2 separate regions of the Homo sapiens genome follow, and region 2 is linked to region 1. Evidence: promoter capture Hi-C in human tissues and cell types (Jung and others, 2019). All regions are on one chromosome and are shown on one strand. Each heading gives the region's core, a stretch centred on a gene start or on the middle of the fragment in contact. The rest is flanking DNA. Distances are from core to core; before and after follow the strand shown.

Evidence for each region. The method cuts DNA at HindIII sites, captures the fragments that hold promoters and counts their contacts. A contact is called where the count stands out against the background at its distance.
Region 2: a fragment that was not itself captured here is called in contact with the fragment with the promoter of HERC6 in region 1 in 1 of the 25 tissues and cell types used here (mesenchymal stem cells).

The regions. Positions count from the first base shown.
Region 1 is chr4:88,377,269-88,380,546 of GRCh38, reverse strand. HERC6 (HECT and RLD domain containing E3 ubiquitin protein ligase family member 6) reads right to left here and starts at 1,695. Exons shown (of 23, transcript NM_017912.4): 1 at 1,427-1,695. The coding sequence starts at 1,625. RefSeq lists an enhancer at 943-1,272 and a silencer at 1,283-1,472. The HindIII fragment of the contact is 12,273 bases long and covers 1-3,278 here.
Region 2 is chr4:89,014,851-89,018,089 of GRCh38, reverse strand. All of the region lies in intron 3 of FAM13A (family with sequence similarity 13 member A), which reads left to right. Among named protein-coding and RNA genes, the nearest start is that of FAM13A, 41 kb to the left of the region's middle. The HindIII fragment of the contact is 6,922 bases long and covers 1-3,239 here.

The DNA of each region.
Region 1 (3,278 bases), core at 446-2,945:
TGGGGTTTCATCATATTGGCCAGGGTGGTCTCGATTTCCTGACCTCGTGCTCCGCCCGCCTCGGCCTCCCAAAGTGCTGGGATCACAGGCGTAAGCCACCGCGTCCGGCCTATTATGTGTATATATATATATTTATATATTATATATATATATTTATATATTATATATATATATTTATATATTATATATATATTTATATTATATATATATTTATATATTATATATATATTTATATATTATATATATATTTATATATTATATATTTATATATTATATATATTTATATATTATATATTTATATATTATATATATTTATATATTATATATTTATATATTATATATATATTTATATTATATATATATTTATATATTATATATATATTTATATATTATATATATTTATATATTATATATATTTATATATTATATATATTTATATATTATATATATATTTATATATTATATATATTTATATATTATATATATTTATATATTATATATATATTTATATATTATATATATTTATATATTATATATATTTATATATTATATATATATTTATATATTATATATATTTATATATTATATATATTTATATATTATATATATATTTATATATTATATATATTTATATATTATATATATTTATATATTATATATATATTTATATATTATATATATTTATATGCTATATATATATTTATATATTATATATATTTATATGTTATATATATATTTATATATTATATATATTTATATGTTATATATATATTTATATATTATATATATTTATATGTTATATATTTATATATTTATATATTATATATATTTATATATTATATATTTATATATTATATATTTGTATATATTTATATATTATATATATTTATATATTTTATATATATATTTTTATATATATATATTTTTTAATGCCCCAGTGTATTTCTAAGGGAGATACAGGTGTCTGACCCACAAACCACGTTTGTAAGGTCAGGCTGCCTTCTCCAGGTAGAACCGCGCAGGCGAGGATTTATCTGCAAGGCAAGCCGGAGGGACCACATCTCTTTCCAGAGCAGCGCTGACCAGGTTAGTTTCGGCTCTCAGTTTCGCTTTGAACTTGAATTGGAAACCGAAACAAATCCGAGGGGCGTTGGGAAAACGAAACTGAGGAAGTTGCTCTTCGGTAGCACAGGGCACCATTTTCCTGGTTCCTGTGGCTCTTCGGGCCCCGAGGAATCCAAGGCTCCCAGCACCCCTCCCTGCCTGGCCCGCGGCGCCCAGCATCTGAGCCGCTCCCTGCACCTGGGCCCCCGCGCCCCTCACCCGGGTCCCAGCGCTCCGCACCCGGTTCCCTGCGCCCGGTACCCAAGCCCCCGCGCCCATGTACTGGGGTCCTCACACCCTGCACCTGGGGCCCCCCGCTCACCTGGCAGCTCCCCGCGCTGCGCGCCCCTGCGGCCCAGCTGACCCCTGCTGTTGTCTCCGCACGAGAGGACCCTGTGGTTGGTCAGCAGCAGCAGAGAGTGGCGCTCCCCGCTGGCCGCCTGCAGTAGCTCAGCCCCGGGGCTGCCCGCCGTCCTCCGGCGCTGCAGCTCCCTGGAGTCGGCGCCCCAACAGAAGTACATCCCGCTTCTGCGCCCTGTCGCCTGCTCCGGATTCCGTCGGTCCCGCTGCGACAGGCTCCCGAACGCTGGTGACTGGGTGCGCGATGATTTCCTGAATATCAAGAGACTCACCCTGTCTTCAACCCGCCCCAGGGGCGCAGCCCTGGCCCCATGTCAACTCTCGCTGCCTGAACTTCAAGTGCTGAAGAGCAGAGAGGGCGTCCCAGGGAATAAAACTGAGTTTACATCCTAAGCCATTTATGAGTCGTGAATGCCACTTTGGGCAAGTTACCTAATGATTCCGTGCTTCAGCTATCATATCTACGAAATATGGACTGCAATTCAGCAAATCTAATATGTCGGGATAATTTAATAGGCACATAAAGTGTTAGAATAATACCTAGAGTGGTTAATAAAGCATCTGAGTGCCCACCTCATTCCAGACCTTTTTTGGCATTGAAAATATGTTTGTTTTTTGTTTGTTTGTTTGTTTGTTTGTTTGAGATGGAGTGTCGCTCTGCTGCTCAGGCTGGAGTGCAGTGGCACCATCTCGGCTCACTGCAACCTCCACCTCACGGGTTCAAGCTGATTCTCTTGCCTCGGCCTCCCGAGTAGGTGGGATTACAGGCATGCGCCACGACGCCCGACTTAATTTTTGTATTTTTAGTAAAGATGGGGTTTCACCATGTTGGCCAGGCTGGTCTCGAACTCCTGACCTCAAGTGATCCACCCCTCAGCTTTCCAAAGTGCAGGGATTACAGGCGTGAGCCTCTGGGCCCCGCCTGAAAATACAATTAGTGAAAGACAAGATCCTCTTGATGCGTTTACATTCTCCTGAGGGAAAGAGAACATAAACAGATAAACACATAGTGTAATATCAAGGGGCAACGAAAAATACAACAGGAACCAGAGGGTGGAGGCGGAAGGCACTGGTATTTGAGATGATATTAGGGAAGATCTCTCTGATGAAGTGATATTTGTGCAGAGAGCTGAGGGGACATGGGAAATGAGGGAATGAGTCGTGATCACACCTGAGGGCAGAGGATGAAAAGAAGCAGTTGGAAGGTTTTGAATAGAGAAGAGCCATGATCTGACTTCAGTTTTTAAAGATTCATCTGGCTGCTGTGTGAAAAATAATAGGACAAAAATGGAAGCAGAAAGCCAGTTAGCAGAGACTACTTCAGAGTTCAGGTCAGGTGATATCCTAGAAGGGAAGAGAGGAGAAGTTATTAGATTCAAGACATGTTTTGAAAGTAAGAGTCCACAGATTTGATGATGGATTAGAAATTGGGGGGAAAGAAGAAAAGGGATTAGGGATTACTCCAGGGTTGGCTTTAGGGGTTACTCCAAGGTAAACTCTACTGGACTGGGAAACCCTGAGGAAGGTGCAGGTTTAAGCTATGTGTGTCTGGAATACAGATTGGTAATGATAACTGTAAGATGCTTGTTAATCAAGAAGGCAATAGGATAAACTGTTTTGGAGTTGTAGAGAGAAGCTTGGGTGTAGTCAGAAAATTGGGAGCCATCAGTGTAGAGGTGATGCTTAAAGCCAGATGGCTGAATGAGAACACCCAGGGGGTGAATGTGGTGACAGTATAGCAGAGGCTAGAGGACTGATCATAGGAGGAAAACCAGGAGGAGGAGTTATAGACAGAGCAAGTAACGAATAAAGGA
Region 2 (3,239 bases), core at 697-3,196, 640 kb before region 1:
GAAAAATCCCAGAAGTTTTACCTATTTTCAAACCTATTATTTTTTGTAATCTTAGCTACTTCATTTTTGAAAAAAATGATTTTATTTTTTGAAAAGGCATAAAATCATTGAATTATTAAATATTATATTTTATTGAAAATAGTGATAAAATATGAAAGCAAATTTGCAGAACAGTTTGTTCTGGTTGTCAACGGTGCTTTTAAGCTTTGTATGTCAGTGAGTGACATGTTCGAGGCTTGCTAATTGGAAACTTTATGAACTTTTTCACGATATGTATGAAGATAACCATTCCTTCATAAAGGTGACAATTCCTCCTATTTGGAAACATTAAATCCTTTTTACAAGGAATATTTTATCCATAGGGAAGGGAAGTTTTGAGATAAAGTTTGGAAAATTATTGTAAAATAATGTCTACAGGAGTTGACGAATATTTTATGCTTAATGCAAAATATTTGGTAGTCAGATATCTTTAGTATTCTTAATATTATTCTATAGTATTCTGTATTATTAAGTATTCTTAGTACTCAAAAATCCTATAAATTTCAAAGGCTTTTATCACATTTCCAGAATAGTTTTCATTTGATATGAGTATGTACTGTTTTATTATTTTTATTACTATTTATAGAATTATTTTGTAATCATTTAGGTCTTTGTGAGTCGCCATATTCTTTATGACGTGATTCCTCAGTCATCAGAAAGTTGATAGGTGTCATAAAAGCAAGCAGTATCATTCTAAAAGCAAGACTCATTGTATAGTCAGCCTTTAGGTTATGTGAGGTTATGCACAGGTAACAAATTTTGAATGGGAAGAGAGGTTAAATTTTTGCTATGTTGGTATTATTCTTCCATTCCCTTAAAATCTCTGGTTAGATTTGAGTCATTCAGTAAAAAAAAATTACAGTTAAGCATCAATGACATAAATACTTTCTGAAAAATACATTATTAGGTGATTTCATTGTTGTGTGAACATCATACAGTATACTTACACAAGCCTAGATTGTATAGCCTACTACACACGTAGGCTATATGGCATAGCCTGTTGCTTTTAGGCAACAAACCTATACAGCATGTTACTGTACTGAATACTGTAGGCAGTTGTAATGCAGTAGAAAACACTTGTGTATCTCAACATATCTAAAAATTGAAAAGGTACAGTAGGCCTGGCCTGTGGCTTATGCCTGTAACCCAGCACTTTTGGGAGCTGAGGTGGGCAGATTGCTGGAGCCCAGGAGTTTGAGATCAGCCTGGGTGACATGGCAAAACCGCATCTCTACAGAAAATTAAGAAATTAGCAGGGCGTGGAGGCATGCACCTGTAGTCCCAGCTACTCAGGAGGCTGAGGAGGGAGGATCACTTGAGCCTAGAAAGTCAAGGCTGCAGTGAGCCATAATCATACCACTGCACTCCAGCCTGAGTGACAGAGTGAAACCCTGTCTCAAAAGAAATAACAATAAAAAAGAAAACAGAAAAGGTACGTAAAAATATAGTATAAAAGATTGTTTAAATGGTACACCTGTATAGGGCATTTACCATGAATGGAGCTTGCAGGACTAGAAGTTGCTCTGGGTGAGTCAGTGAGTGAGTGGTGAGTGAATATGAAGGCCTAGGAGATTACTGCACCACTGTAGGCTTTATAAATCTTGTACACTTAAGCTAAACTAAATTTATTTAAAAATTTGTTTTGTCTTCAGTAATAGACCTTAGCTTACTGTAACTTTTTTACTTTATAACTTTTTAACTTTTAAAAACATTTTGATTCTTTTAAAATAACACTTAGCTTAAAATACAAATACCTTGCATAGCTCTACAAATTGTTTTCATCATATAATTTTAATATTTTTCTATTTTTAAAATTTTCTTTTTTCTTTTTTTACTTTGTAAAATTGTGTTTTTTTTTTTTTAAACTAAGGCATAAGCACAGATGTGAGTCTAGGCCTACAGAGTCAGAATCATCAATATTACTACCTTCCACCTCCATATCTTGTTCCAATGGAAAGTCTTCAGGAACAGTAACACTTGTGGAACTGCCATCTCCTACAATAGCAATGCCTTCTTATGGAATACTTCCCGTAGTACCTGCCTGAGTCTGTGTTACAGTTAACATACACATGTGTATATGTATGTATGTATATGTGTATGAGTCTGTGTTATAATTAACATACACGTATATATGTATGTATATGTATATGTGTATCTAAGTCTGTTATAGTTAACATACACATATATATGTATATGTATATCTGAGTCTGTGTTGCAGTTAACATACACGTATATATGTATATGTGTATCTGAGTCTGTGTTACAGTTAACTTTATATATATATAAACTTCATACATATAAATAGAATGAGTACACTCTAAAATGCACTTTATACATATATGTATAAATAGAATGGGTACACTCTAAAATAATAAAATGTATAGTATAGTAAGTTTTCACTTAATGTTGTTGATAATTTCTTGGAAACTGCAACTTTAAGTAAAATGATGTATCAGGAAATAAATTTTATCACAGGCAGATTAATACAAACAAAAGTTAAGTATCGGGGTAACCCGCCCCCGATAATTCAACATGAGTCCTTTTCTATTTTTCCTAAGTGTCAGCCAGTCTGAGAAATAAAGGGAAAGAGTACAAAGAGAGAAATTTTAAAGCTGGGTGTCCGGGGGAGACATCACATGTCAGCAGGTTCCGTGATGCCCCCGCAAGCCGCAAAACCAGCAAATTTTTATTAGTGATTTTCAAAAGGGGGAGGGAGTGTACAAATAGGGTGTGGGTCACAGAGATCACGTGCTTCACCAGGTAATAAAATATTACAAGGCAAATGGAGGCAGGGTAAGATCACAGGACCGGGGCGAAATTAAAATTGCTAATGAAGTTTCAGGCACACATTGTCGTTGGTAACATCTTATCAGGAGACAGGGTTTGAGAGCAGACAACCAGTCTGACCAAAATTTCCTCGTCCTAATAGGCCTGGGAGCGCTACAGGAGACCAGGGCTTATTTCATCCCTTATCTTCAACCGTAAAAGACAGATATTCCCAGAGCGGCCATTTTAGAGACCACCCCCTAGGAACGCATTCTCTTTCTCAGGGCTGTTCCTTGCTGAGAAAAAGAATTCAGCGATATTTCTCCTATTGCTTTCGAAAGAAGACAAATATGGCTCTGTTCTGCCCAGCTCTCAGGCAGCCAGACTTAATGGTTATCTCCCTTGTTCCCTGAACATTGCTGTTATCCTGTTCT